5 separate regions of the Homo sapiens genome follow, and all the other regions are linked to region 1. Evidence: promoter capture Hi-C in 16 types of primary human blood cells and fetal thymus (Javierre and others, 2016). All regions are on one chromosome and are shown on one strand. Each heading gives the region's core, a stretch centred on a gene start or on the middle of the fragment in contact. The rest is flanking DNA. Distances are from core to core; before and after follow the strand shown.

Region 1 (2,786 bases), core at 110-2,609:
TAAATATCAAAATTCCATTATGTAAGTGGCACATTCAGAAAGGTTAATCGGAAAGGTTATGCACAAAAATGGAACCACCCATGATACAAATTTGCTCACCCACCACGAAGAGGACAAAACATAAAAAGAACTTACCAAACATAGCACTGACTGAGCCGGCCATCAGCAGCCCTTGAGTCGAGTTGTACATCTCCACGTCAATCAAGCCCTTCCGGATGGTTTCGCTCACTTTGGCCCCCAGTAAGACAGAGCCCACTGTTTCAAAGATGCTAGCTAGGATGCAGGCTTGCTTCAGGGTCACTACACCTGAGCCCACAGCTGTACCAAAAGAATTTGCTACATCATTGGCTCCCACGGAGAATGCCAAGACAAATGCAATAATGAAGCCCAGGATGAGCATCCATAGGTAGTCCACCAAAGGACCAGAAGCGGCGGTAGCAGCTGTAGTACTGGTAATCAGCGTTGCCATTCTCTGGAGTAGTGGTTGTTTAGTAAGAGAACTACTGAGCGCCTTTCAAGATGTGTAAACAGAATATGAGGTATCAAAAATGCTATAATAAATAATATATATTATATAAAATTAAATACTGTAAACTACGGCACAGAAACCGAGCTGGGGAGTTACTGCTATACGCTGCGTATGGGCATCTGTTGTCTGGGGTTTCTTTGGCTCAGGAGGGCTAAAAGCACGGAGCAGAATTCCATGGCGGAGAAGAGAAAGGACGCAAGTTCATCCTGCGGGGGAGGGGGGAAATAACAATAGCTGCGTGCCCCTGGGGGGCCAGTGGGGCACCCCGCTCTACCCACGCGCCCGGGGTCCCGCAATAGCCTCTGCCGGCTACTCCAGACCCCCATCCCCAGTAGGACGCGCGAGAAGGAGAGGCACGTGGCTCCGGGTCCTCCGCGGCCCGCGCGCGCCCAGCCCAGCCCCTGCGCTGCCAGCCCGCGCGCGCCCTCCGCGCGAAAATCGGAAAAGGGCCGTTCCCGCGCGCGCCGCCCGGGGACCGCCAAAAAGGCCCGCGGGCGGGCAGACGGGCGGAGTGGAGGCGGCCAGCGGCGAAGAGAGAAGCCAGCCGCGCCGCCCACGGCGTCCGCCTCCAGCGCCACGGCGTCCGCGCCCGGCCCCGGGGAGAAGAAAGAGCCTTTACGAGGCGGCGCCACTACTCACCAGGGAAAAGGGAGGGCGGAGCGGGAGACGAGGAGATCGAGGCGACAGCGGCTGGAGCCACGGGCACACGGCCCGGGTCGGCGGCACCGGGGACAGCTCAGCGGGACTCACGACCTTCCCAGGAAGCAGCCGCGGGGGTTTCAGCGGCCGAGAAGAAGAACCACGCAGAGAGCGCCGGCAGCCATCACTCCAGCGGAGCACCCCGCCGGCCCCTACTTATAGCCCGCGCAGCGACCCGCGTGACCCCGCCGCGCCTCGCGCCGGCCCCGAAGCCCCGCCCCCGGCATGACGCAGCCCTCCTCGGCCCGGCGTGCCCAGCCGGGTGAGCCCGACGGTGGCGCTCATTGGCCCGGCCCGCTTCGGCGGCCACGCCCCCAGCGGGGAGCCGGTCCACGTGGGGCGGGACAGCCCCCTCCCTGCGGCCTCGCCCTGGAGTCTCGGCACCGTCTGGCCCCGCCGGCTGATTACAGCCAGAGATCGAGGGGGACCTCGCTGTCCCCCTAGAGGCCGTCATGCGGGGTTACAGAGGCTGCGACCAAAGTCATTCCTAGCTCCTCTCTCGGGGCTCCGGAAAGCCGTCCGCGCCTCCAGCCGCACTTTCAGCGCACGCAGGACCTGCCGCGCCCGGTGGCCACACCCGTCCCTCTGCCGGGTGACGCTGCGGGAGATCTTGCGCCCTGGGGCTCCGGATCCAGTTCTGGCACGTTGTTGCACCTGTGACTTGTCCTTGGCCTGGCACTGTCCCTCGCCTGGGGGAAGCGGGGGGGTGGGGGGGGGATGCTCACGTGGTCGCTTTGCTCCCGCAGTCATGCACTTGGGTGAAAACAGACTGAAGAGTCACGGGAACCAGCTTGTCTCCCCAGTTATGGCGCAGAGCTGCAAGGATGGCTGTGGGTCATTAATTTCTCCGTGGCTGACCTGTGTTTGTAACGCCGCAGCTGTTGCGAGGGGGAAGGACACTGCTTCGGATTCAAATTCTGACTCCTTGCTGCAGTGTGTCACCTTGAGCCAGTCCCAGATCTCTGCGTTCTCACAATTGTAAAATGTTAACAGAGGCTGCCTACCTTGTGGCTGGAATTAAATGAATTAACGTGTGTGAATGTGACTAGAATTCAGTACATGTTCAGGAAAAGCTGATTTCCGCTTTGCTGTTACCGTGAATATTACTGTTTTAGGGTGTAGAAAAGGGTGGAAGGGGATGTTATTGCATCCTGGAAGCTTATCCTTTTGAGGTAAAGATTGATTTCTGGTCCCCTGCGTGGTATATAGTGTAGTTTTGACATTATTTAGATGTGTTATGCACATTTGGGTGTTGATTATATGGCTTACGATCAAGACTAACCAGTCATGCCGTGGGAGATTAAGGTCGTGGTCTCTTGTCAGGATTGTAGTGAGATTTAAAAATTCCAGCCAGAAATACCAGGCTTAGAATGCTCTGAAGCCCTCCCCACATTTTTGCCATCTCTAGCAGGAGGGCACTGCATAGCAGAAACAAAGACGTTGTAAATTGTTGCTGCCTGAGTCATTTATAGAGGCTTAAACAACCTGAATGTCCTCTGACCTACCTGTAACATTTGATGGAGTTGTATGAGTAACTTACAAAGCTGTAGGTCCCAAG
Region 2 (2,786 bases), core at 208-2,707, 490 kb after region 1:
TGGGCAGCCAAGTATTTCTAACCCCAGTGCTGCTGGCTCCAGGCACAACTGCCCTCTGCTTCCGGTGCCACTTCCTGCTCCGTGGGCAACAGGCGCCAGCTGCTTTCTCCCCGGTGCTCATTGAGGGTGAGATGTGCCCAGCTTGCCAGTTACCACGGAAAAACCTTAAACATCTTCAAGACCAAGCAAACCAAGGCTGCATCTCCGTCCCAGGCGGGGAGGGAGACAGGAAGGCTCCAGGCTGACTTGCCGAGGGAAGGTGAGGAGGCTGTGGCCCATCCCAGCCTCCAACCTCTCTGGGGTGAGGCTGATGAAACAGAGCGTGGTACAAGGAAGCATCTTGCTGCTCTCGGCAAGCCAGCATGCCGGGGCTGGGGCCAGGGAGCCCGAGAAGCAGAGAGTATCCGTGCCTTTGACATGAGGTTTGAGGGTCTGAGCTGCAGCTGCTCCTAACAGGGCAGGTCCTGGATGCCATGCTCATCTGTCACCTGAGTTGGTATAGGCACAGGCATCACCGAGCTCCTTTGCAAAGCTAGATGATGAAGCTGGAATCCTTACATACCAAGACATGCACCCATGAGACCCACATTATGGGGACAAATGAGGTCATGTGAGGGGCCTGAGACCCCAGTGCCCCCTTTTTCCAAGCTGAGAAAGCTTTATCATTTTGCTTGATCATAAAAAGAAAGCATAATCTCTGCAAAACAATTCAAAATACAGAAAAATGCATTCAAACAAAGAACAAGTCCCACAACCAGAGACAACCACTGTTAACTTTTCGTTGGGTTTCAAGTCTTGGGTTAGACACAGGTGCTCCCTTGCACAGACGTCACCATGCAGCCCCACAGGATGCAGGCTCTATGTCAGCTCTTTCCCCTCAACACTGGCTGTGGCATCATTTTCATGTTAACGAGCAGAGCAACCGGCCTGTCTCTGAGTCTCAATTCTCATTCCTCAATGCACTCTTTTCAGTCTGGGCAGGGGGCTCCTTGCCCACAGCCACAGTTGTCTGCCATTCCCCTCCCAAACCCACCACCCTCCCCTGCTCTGAGCCATGCATGGAAGCAGGCCATTTCCTTCCATGCACATGTGGTCCTTGCTGAGGTCAGGCCAAGGGTGCTGTGAGGGGCTATGGGATGGACAGGAAGCCGGCCGGACCCTCAAGGGCTGTCCACCTGCTGCTCAGTGAAGGGCTGGCTTTTGGGTGAGGCTTTCCCATCTCAGGGTTCCAGGTCCCAACAGTGAAAAGCAACCCCAGGCTCCGCACAGCCCTCGAAGCTGACCTCCCACTCTCCAAGGTGGGAGTGGGTGAAGGTCAGATCCAGACAGGGCAGCAAGGGGAGGCCCCTGCACACCAGGAAGGACAGAGCGTGTTCCAGAGGCCGTCCCCTCGAAGCTGAGGAAGCTGCCATGTCTGGGTCCTCACTTTCCCAGGCCTCTTCCAGGGCTCTTGAGGCGCCCCGTTTTAAATCTTTTTCTTAGAGAGATCCCCTCAAATGGTATAAATTTTCATCCCTTCAAAACCAGTCGTGGCCCAACTTATGTCATTGACAATAAATAATGACGAATAGTTTCCATTTCTTTGAATTAATAACTTCTTTGAAATGGAACTAAGAGGAGACATGCAGTGAAACCTTCCATCTTTGAGTAGAAAAATATCAAGGTTTACCGTTTCTGTTATGAAACTCTTTAAAGGGGTGAGTACTTCATCTAACTTGACACCAATGGCAATGTTTGCAGAGAACCAGTTAGAGAAGGAACAACAGATGTCACCCCATCCAGGTTTTTCCAAGCTGGAGTAGAGGTGGCATGGATGGTTCTGGAAGACGCAGACCAGTGCTGAGAGCTGGGCGAGGGGAGGAGCTGGTTTTAAGGCTCTTGGAAGCAAGAAGGCCCATGGAACGCTCCATCCACCCCTGCCCTTCTCCGGGAATTCTTGTCCATCTCCCCTCCAGCCCCTTCTCGCACAGTGTTTACTCCGGCGGGTCCACGGAAGATTCCTCAGAGATCACCAGGCTCCCTTCCTCTGAGAACCAACTACCACTTGCAGGATGGCTGGGCCTCCAGAGACATTTCGTACCCCCAGACCCTACCTCCTGGTCCAAGGGTGGACACAGCCAAAGATGGGTGTGTGTCCCCCGGCTCACCCGGTCCCCTGCCAGCAGGCCTGACCCCTCTCATCCCATCCAGGCCCCCATGCTGTTTGGGCTCACTCCGAACCTGCTCTGAAGGCAACAGAGGGTACAGAGAAGCTTCAGGAGTATGTACGGAAACATGGGGACTGGTCCCTGGGGCTTCTGTTCTCCTGTAACCTGGCTCGATGGTCTTCCTCACAGTGACAGTCTTGGTACAGTGACACCTTTTGAGAGCCTCTTTGGTGACAATAGAGCTCCAAGACCTCCGATGGCCACGGATGACCCCTAGACTTGGAGGGGCCGTCTCCCACGCTGGTTTCTCCCAAGCCACAGCTATGCGTCACGTCAGCATTTTGTTAATGGGAACACAGATGTTTTGATGCCTTAGGTCTCTGAAAGGACCGAGCAACTTACCAAATGTGAGCCTGCTGGCCAAGGCTCGGAGTCTTCAGCGTCTGAGTCATGTCGAATTCGTGAATGTGCTCTCTACAGAACTTATTTTTATTTTTCAACTGAGCCAGAGGCGGGTTATAAATCCTCGACTACTCTTCATGCCAGAGACCTCTGCTCAGCACCCACATATATGAGGAGAGAAAGTGGGTGCTTCTGGAGGAAGTGAGAGAATTTCACTTGGGGAGTTGCCTGAGGCCT
Region 3 (2,786 bases), core at 215-2,714, 350 kb before region 1:
AGGGATCCTCCATGATTTTGTAAACCATGGCATAATACACTATTTCTCACATGTGCTGGGTAAGGCAGGGAGCCCAGATCTGTGTTTTCTGGGTTCCACATGCTTTCTATGAGATTATTATAAATTGGTGTTTTCATTTTGGTTATACTCTGTCATCATAGCCTCTTCTGTATCACCAGAATGAACACCTTACCCTTGAGTCCAGCCACATGATGTCAGGACTCATATTTGAGCTTTTGTTTGAGCTCACATTTGTGCCAAGTGAAAGTCCAAGGTATCAGTGACTGAACAAACAAAGTTTTTCACAGTAGAGAAAAGAGGTGGGAATACCAAATCATCACACAGCCTGTAGCAGGATGGAGATGCTGTAACACTTACAACCATAATCATGTCACAAGCTAATGTGTCATCAGCTTTTAATTAATAATATAAATTGGCAGATGTAACAACCTGCCACTATTTATTAGCATAGCATGGATATATGAGTGAATATCCAATGACTAATTCTTCTATTGGATATTCCAGAATTAATTAACTTTAACACTTATTTTAGTGTTGATTTTTATAAAACTGCAATGCCAACATTATATTCAATTGAGGAAGAAAACTTTAGAGGAGAGTGGCAGAGGAAGGAGGAAAGTAGGACTTTGCATTAATCATCCCACACAGAAACATCAATTTGATCAACTATTCATGCACAAAAAAAATCACAAGAGCAAAGGAAACCAGGTGAGAGATCACAGTACTTGATTTTAGCATCATAATAATAACAGATACATTGAAGAGAATAGGAAGGACAGTTTTACATTACCCACATCACCCCTTCCCTAACCCCAGGCAGTGCAGTATAGAGAGAGACATTATCTCTTGGGGAAAGAAAAAGGAATTAAGAGTAAGACTTCACCTTGGAACTCAGTACCATGCCTGCCACAGTAAAACCCACCACAGGGCAAACAACTTGATCCCTACCACCAGACTTATACCTGTAGATGAAGCCTCTAGATCTACCCCAGCACCAGAGAGGAACCTGTGGCACCAGTGAGATGGACTTCAGTTTGGTACAAGTCACTGCCAGCAGTGGGCAGGCCATAGTGGCCATGGTGTTGAGCATGCCCTATGTAGTGCTGTGCTGGTCTCAGAGACTCTAAGCTTTGGATGTGACCCAGTGCTACCTCAGCCTCTGCTGCCAAAGGATTCTGGCCATTGTGATCCTGGACTTAGAGCAGCTCCTAGTGCTGCAATTGCTGAAATGGTCACAGGCTTAGGGACCTCCCCAGTCAAACTTCTCTGAATCTCTGGACAGGCTTACTGCTAAAGGAAGCTCCCCAACAAAGCCAGATTGCAAAGACTAGATTAGGTACTTACATCAATGCATGGACATCTACAAATGGCTACAAGAATCACAATAAATCAGGGAATGTTCACTTCACCAAGCAGACAAAATAAGGTGCCAGTGACTGACCCTGAAGAAATGGAGATGGAAGAACTGCCTGACAAGGAATTCAAGATACCTGTTTTAAGGAAGCTCAGCAAACTTCAAGAACATACCAAAAAACAATTCAAAATTTGGTCAGAGAAATTTAACAGAGATAATGAAATAACTTTCAAAAACTCAAATAGAAATTCTGGAGCTGAGAAAAAAAAAATTAAAAATACAATGAGACCATCCACAGTAGAACTGAACAACAAGAGGAAAAGAATCTGTGAATTCAAAGACAGGGTAATTCAAAATATACAGTCAGTGGAGAAAAGGGAATAAAAATAAATGAAGAAAGCTTATAAAACTTATGGAGTAACATCAAAAGAGCAAATGTATGGGTTACTGGTACTCAAGAGGGAGTAAAGAAAGAGAAAGGAATGGAATAACAATGGAAAACTTTCCAAACCTGGAGAAAGATATAAATATCCAAGTACAGGAAGGTCAAAGATCTCTAATCAAACTCAACCCAAACAAGACTACTCCACAACATATAATCATCAAACTGTCAAAGACAAAAAGAGTATCCTGAAAGTAGCAAGGGAAAAGAAGCAAATAACATATAATGGTCTCTATATGCCCAACAGCAAACTTCTCAACAGAAACCTCATAGGCCAGGAGAAAATGGAATTTTAAAATGCTGAAGGAAAAAAACGTGCCAACCAAGAATATTCTAGTCAGCAAAGCTGTCTTTCAAAAATGATGGAGAGATAAAGACTTTTCAGACACACAAAAACTGAGGGAATTCATCGCCACCAAACCTGTCTTACAAGAAATGCTAAAGGGAGTTCTGCAAGATGAAAAAAAAGATGCAAATGAGTAACACGAAAACATCTGAAAGAATATAACTCGTTGGTAAAAGTAGGTACATAGTCAAACTCTGAATACTCTATTAACATAATGGTGGTATGTAAATCACTTATATCTTTAGTATAAAAGGTTAAAAGACAAAACTATTATAAATAATAACTATAACAAGTTCTTAAAGAATATGCAACATAAAAAGATATAAGCTGTGACATCAAAAATTCAAAATGTTGAGAGAGGAGTTAAATTAAAAAGTAGAAATTTTTGCAATCAAATTTAAGTTGTCATCAGTTTTAAATAACCTGTTACAACCATAAAAAGTCTTTGTAAGTCTCATGGTAACCACAAAGCAAAAACCTATGCACTAAAAATAATAATTAGGAATCAAAACATACGACTAAAGAAAATTAGCCACAAAGGAAGATAGTAAGAGAGACAGAAAGCAAAAAAGGATCCACAAAACAACTAGAAAACATGTAACAAAATGGCAGGAGTAAGTTCT
Region 4 (2,786 bases), core at 74-2,573, 290 kb before region 1:
CTCCCCCTGGTTTGCAAACTGTTCGCTGGACTAAAGTCCCCTTTCCCTAAATTCCTTTTCAGATAACTATCGTTCAATAACTTTAGTTCCCAAAGCCCACAAATGCTCATGTGACTCATGCTGTGGCTTAGCAGGCAGTATCTGGCATTGTTCCCAGCATGGTACCTGTGGTGGCCATACCACAAAATTCCCACAGACTGCATCAGATAAATGGAATAGTGCCATTCTAACAAGACGCCTCAGCACCTCAACCAAAGGGGAGGTCACCTCCTCCCAGACTTACCTATGAACATAGGTGTGCAGATGCACCCTCATCACCTTTTCCCCCACAGGAAGCATCACCCAGACCACTCTCGTCCTGTGCCTTTCTGTTTGTGGACTGTTACCTCTTCTACGTATAAGTTGCGACAGCTCTGCTGAGTAGCTGCAGGGACATTTTGATCTGGGAAAAAGTGGAACAGAACCCTTTCAGATATAAAGAGACTGAGAATCAGAGTGGCTGGAATTCTCTTAGGTCAGCATTGTGTTGGGATTTACGCTGTGTGTTCAATAAAACAACCACTGACTGGTCCTCAACTTCCATTGCCAACATCTATGTTCATAAGAGGCACTTATGAAGTCAATTGGCCAAATCTACAGCAATGGGGGACAAGACCAAAGGTTAGAGACACAGCCCTTGGAAATTATTCTGTAACAGCACTCTGCTGGGCCCAGCTGGGGCCGTGCATGTAGGAAGGAAGGGACGCACTGGTCCACATACCTGCAGGCATTCACCATCTCTCACAAAGGCCAGAATTGCTGCTTTCAAAAGGATGTCACACAAGCTAGAAAAATGAAATATTAAGACAACTCGCCCCCCAAAAACATTTCCATTTCTAAAGTTTTCAAATATACTAAAAGCCTTGTCCTGTGCCTACTCTTTAACCTAGAATCCTCTTTAGAGGCTATATTCTAAAGAAATATTCACCTCACTGCTGAGCTTACAGGGTGTACCTAATGTCCAACAATATGAAATCTCTTCAATGAATTGCAGCACGTCCATATATAACCCACATGGAAGCTGTCCTCTTTCCTCACCTTCGAACTTCCCATGCCAAAGAGGGACCTCTTGGACTCAAATACATCTTAGCAATATAGAAGATGCTGGAGACTTGTAGGAGAAGTGGAGAGGGTTTACAGTGTAGCCCCACAGAAAACAACTTATGACCCCATCAGTCACTTGTCCCTTTTTTCCATGCCTCAGTCTAGTCAGGAAACCACTAGATCCTGGATGGCTTCTTCTCCCTTCCCCTCCTTTCTCTTCTCCTCTCCCTCCCTTGCTCCTCCTTCCTCCATCACCCACTCCTTACTTCCAACCAAAACTTGACTAGCTCCAGTCTCATCCCTCCTTATTGAAAACTATTTTACTCAGCCCTCCTCCCCCACTCCTGCCCAATCTTTATTCCTTACCTACATCAGACTTCACCAAAACAAAGGCCAGGATAATAAACAGGACAAACTCTTTCAAACACATTTTAATGACCATATTTTGTTATTTTGGTACAATTTGAGGAGTCCCAATCCCCAGGGAAGACTAACAAGAAGTTCTCCTAACAAAGGTGGGTCTCCCCTTACTAAAAACTCCTGTAATGGCTGAAAAGAGCATGAGGTTTTCTGCATATCATTACACATTCAATAGAACGTCATGCAGCTGTTAAAAATGATCTGTAGAAGGCTATCTTGTGACAGAAAGGCATTGGAGATATACTGTTAGTGACAAAAATAGGTTATAAATGAATTTTTCCATGCATGCCTCTATATTTATAAATACACACACATAAAAGACAGGAAGGACAGACATTAAACATTCATAGTGCTTAAGATGATGCATAGTATAATAGTTAGGACCATGGCCTTTGGGACAGAAAACTACAGCCTCTCTCCCACTTATCAGCCATGGGACCTTGGGCAATTTGCTCAGCCTCAAAGCCCCTGTTCCTTTATCTGTGTGCTGGGGTTGTTGTAAGAGTTAAGTGCAATACACAGAGAGAGAGAGAGTACCTAACATGTATTATGTGCTCAGTCAATATGCATCATAGTACTCATTGTTACATATGTTCCTAAGTGCTTTATACGTTTTTTCCCTAAGTTGACCATCTGTTTTTGGCATTATGAAACATAATGATCCTAACAAATTAAAAATTAAAAACATTAAGGAATATTTGCCCAAAAAAAATAAAGAACATGAAATCATCAAGTAGCCAAGGGGCCATAGACAGAAGTAAGCCCTTGGTGGGGCTTAGTTGAGAGAAGTCTCCAGAAGGTCCTTCGTGTGTTAAAGAAGAGGGGTACAGGGAGGAGGTGGGGAGAGATGTTAACTGAGTCTAAATGAGCACCTGGAAGAAGAGATGGGACAGGCCACTTCTGCCTGGACTCCCTGATTGTTAAGAAGAATGAAAAAGAGCAGAAGTCTTCCCTGAGCCCAACTTCACTCCCTGACTTAACCTAGTCTTTGCCCCTTCCCTCTCACTCATGGCTACTTTCTGTGGTCACCTTGTTGTAGAAGTGGATGTGCAGCCACCTCATCTTTTTCTACCTCCTTCACATGTTTTAGATAATTTAATGTAGTAGAAGACGGTTACAGCAAAAAATTACAAAAATCAAAATATCTCTGCTATCTACTGTTGCATTTCTAACCATCCCAAAACAGTAGCTGAAAACAGCACTCGTGGTCGAGCGCGGTGACTCATGCCTTTAATTCCAGATACTCCGGAGGCTGAGGCAAGAGAATCACTTGAACCCGGAAG
Region 5 (2,786 bases), core at 132-2,631, 280 kb before region 1:
AGACAGCATGGCTGTGTTGGCAAATACACAAAACAGGCAATAAGCTGTATTTGGCCTTTAGGCTGCAGTTTGCCAACCCTTGCACTAACACAAGGAGCTTAAAGGTAGCGGTGGTGCTGTGCTGGAGCTAGCTTATATCAGCTTGCAATAGCCAATTGCTAACATCTCTTCCAAACTCTGTGTCTGTGCCTTCATGTTGGTAGTTTGAAATTGGCCATATTTGGAGTAGTTATGCCATGGAAATTGGCAAAAGCTGTATATCCACCATCACCAGCCCCCTGTGAACCAGCTGATCACATCACTAGGCATGTGTCCACCAGGATGAGAGTGAGGGTTGGGGATGGTTGAGCCAGACAGTGCATGGGAATGTGGGAAGAAAATATTAGATGTCAGACCCTGTTTTATTTAGCCCTTGTAAATTTTTGAATTCTGTGTAAGTTTCATAATGTCCCAATGCCTGCACTTCAAGATGTGTTCTAGAGTTTGTTTAATTGATTAGGATAACTGGGACCAAAAAAATGTTTGGAGTCTACCACTCCTAAAGCGATTTATTATATCCTATGCTGGATAGCTCATTCATGAACAGAGTGCCGGGTGAATAAGGGTCTTCTCTTTCTACACCCGAGACAGCCTTCTTCTTGTCCCCACCTGCCTCACCCTGCCCCAGGACCTCGGATGGGGTAGGAGGAGTGACCAGCTGTGAAAGGAGCTTCTGGTTGGAATGTTTCCTATGGGAGTTTCTGTCACAGATTAAATGCCCTGAGATCACCTTTTGAGAGACATTAAATTTCATGGGATGAACAGTTATCATGTTGGGTATTATGAGTTGAATTATGTCCCCCAAAAAGATATGTTGAGGTCCTATCCCCCAGTAGCTGTGAATGTGACCTTACTTGGAAATAAGGTCTTTACAGATACAGTTCAACTTAAGATGAAGTCATTCGAGTGAGCCCTAATTCAGTATGACTCTGTCCTTATAGGACAATCTGGACACAGAAACACAGAGAGAAGACAGTCATGTGAAGATGGGGGCAGAGACTGGAGTTTTGCTGCCACCAGCCAAGGAACCCTGGAGCTACCACAAACTGAAGGGAGGCCTGGAACAGATTCTCTCTCAGAGCTCTCAGAATGAACCAACACCTGGAGTTCAGACTTTGGCCTCCTGAACCAGGAGACGATACATTTCTGTTGTTTTAAGCCACCCAGTTTATGGTTCTCTATGGGAGCTCTAACAAACCAATACTTTGGGATTCTCAGGTGTGAGGCATAAGGGCCAAAACTTTTTCACTAAACATAAAGACCAATGATTACAATTACAGTTAGGAAAATGAAATTCAAAACCACCTGAGTTTATTTATACACATTTTCCAAAATGCATCTCCTTTGCAAGGGAAGTCATATTACTATAGAAATATGGAGAAGGCCATCATTTAAATAGAAGGCTTCCTTTCCTTTCTCCCTCCCTCTCTTTTTTCTTCCTTTCTTCATTTATAAAAATCTTATGGAGTTCCTACAAGTGCCAAGCACTGCAGTGGGTTCTTGGGATACATCACAGAGCAAAGAACTTGTGGGACATACATGCTAGTGGAAGACACAAACAATAAATGTAAGAAGAAAACTATACAGCATGTTAGAGTGAGAAAAATAAGACAGGGCAAAGGGGAGTCAGTAGTGCTGGGGTGAGAAAAGATTGCAGCATTAAATGGGGTAGCCAATTTCAAACTATCAACATCAAGGCACAGACACAGAGTTTGGAAGAGATGTTAGCAATTGGCTATTGCAAGCTGATATAAGCTAGCTCCAGCACACCACCACCACCTTTAAGCTCTGTGTTAGTGCAGGGGTTGGCAAACTGCAGCCTAAAGGCCAAATACAGCTTATTGCCTGTTTTGTGTATTTGCCAACACAGCCATGCTGTCTATGGCCTTCTTTGTTCTGTAACAACAGAGCATGTGGCAGGATATATAGAATCTGGCACTCTATGAAAAGTGCTGACTCCTGCTCTACAGGAGAAGAGACCACAGATTGACTTCAGCTTCCAAATACTCATCCCGGAGTCAGTCTAGAGCCTGAAATTTAGAGCCTGAAGCACAGTTTCCACCAGAGGGCTGCAATGCATGATAGTTGGGGTTTTTCACCTCTCACCCAAAAGCCTACTCAATGCGATCACCACAACCATGCCTTTCATGAAGTCAACAACAAACAGGGCCTTGTGCTTCCGTAAGGTGTTGATGCACTTGCTGTCTTGGTGGAGCCTCACAGGAAGCATGAGTGACCCATGTCATAGTGACTCACTATATCTCATCAGGTTGGAAGGGGATGGAGCAGGACCAAGCCCAGGCTGTCTGTGTCTCCATTTGGCCTGCATGTTCGGCCTCCTCAAGGCCATGGTCAGTAAGCCCCATCTCCTTTCTGCTAGTCTGTAAGGGAACCAGAGTCCTCACTGCCATGAGACAGCCCCGGCTCAGAGACTAATTTGAACAGCTGTGTCTTTGTTGTGAAAATAGTTTTGTGATATTATGAAGAAGACATGCCTTCCTCTCCAAAATATGGATGTCACCTGGCCACATTTTTTTTTCTTTTATATAGTGATACATAATATTTCACATATTTATGGCATACATGCAAGTACTCATTACATGCACGGAATGTGTAATGATCAAGGTAGGATGTTTGGAGTATTCCTCGCCTTGAATATTTACCATTTCTCTGTGTGGGAAACATCTACTAAATATACTATGTACTTTTTTGTCACTGGGCTGGTGTTGATCACCATCACCATCAGG

Evidence for each region. The method cuts DNA at HindIII sites, captures the fragments that hold promoters and counts their contacts. A CHiCAGO score of 5 or more calls a contact.
Region 2: a contact is called between a fragment that was not itself captured here and the fragment with the promoter of SLC20A1 in region 1, in 1 of 17 cell types (naive CD4 T cells). The highest score is 6.0, in naive CD4 T cells.
Region 3: a fragment that was not itself captured here is called in contact with the fragment with the promoter of SLC20A1 in region 1 in 3 of 17 cell types (naive CD8 T cells, naive CD4 T cells and non-activated CD4 T cells); the score reaches 5.9 in naive CD8 T cells.
Region 4: a contact is called between a fragment that was not itself captured here and the fragment with the promoter of SLC20A1 in region 1, in 2 of 17 cell types (M0 macrophages and M2 macrophages). The highest score is 6.5, in M0 macrophages.
Region 5: a fragment that was not itself captured here is called in contact with the fragment with the promoter of SLC20A1 in region 1 in 4 of 17 cell types (M0 macrophages, M1 macrophages, M2 macrophages and 1 more); the score reaches 8.2 in M0 macrophages.

The regions. Positions count from the first base shown.
Region 1 is chr2:112,644,512-112,647,297 of GRCh38, reverse strand. It overlaps SLC20A1 (solute carrier family 20 member 1), which reads right to left and starts at 1,359. Exons shown (of 11, transcript NM_005415.5): 1 at 1,169-1,359; 2 at 136-735. The coding sequence starts at 469. RefSeq lists silencers at 112-406, 868-1,697. The HindIII fragment of the contact is 3,268 bases long and covers 1-2,388 here.
Region 2 is chr2:112,153,022-112,155,807 of GRCh38, reverse strand. All of the region lies in intron 1 of FBLN7 (fibulin 7), which reads right to left. Among named protein-coding and RNA genes, the nearest start is that of FBLN7, 16 kb to the right of the region's middle. The HindIII fragment of the contact is 1,595 bases long and covers 660-2,254 here.
Region 3 is chr2:112,991,500-112,994,285 of GRCh38, reverse strand. No RefSeq gene overlaps it. Among named protein-coding and RNA genes, the nearest start is that of IL36A, 13 kb to the left of the region's middle. The HindIII fragment of the contact is 626 bases long and covers 1,152-1,777 here.
Region 4 is chr2:112,936,521-112,939,306 of GRCh38, reverse strand. No RefSeq gene overlaps it. Among named protein-coding and RNA genes, the nearest start is that of IL37, 27 kb to the right of the region's middle. The HindIII fragment of the contact is 3,789 bases long and covers 1-2,786 here.
Region 5 is chr2:112,920,546-112,923,331 of GRCh38, reverse strand. No RefSeq gene overlaps it. Among named protein-coding and RNA genes, the nearest start is that of IL37, 11 kb to the right of the region's middle. The HindIII fragment of the contact is 6,002 bases long and covers 1-2,786 here.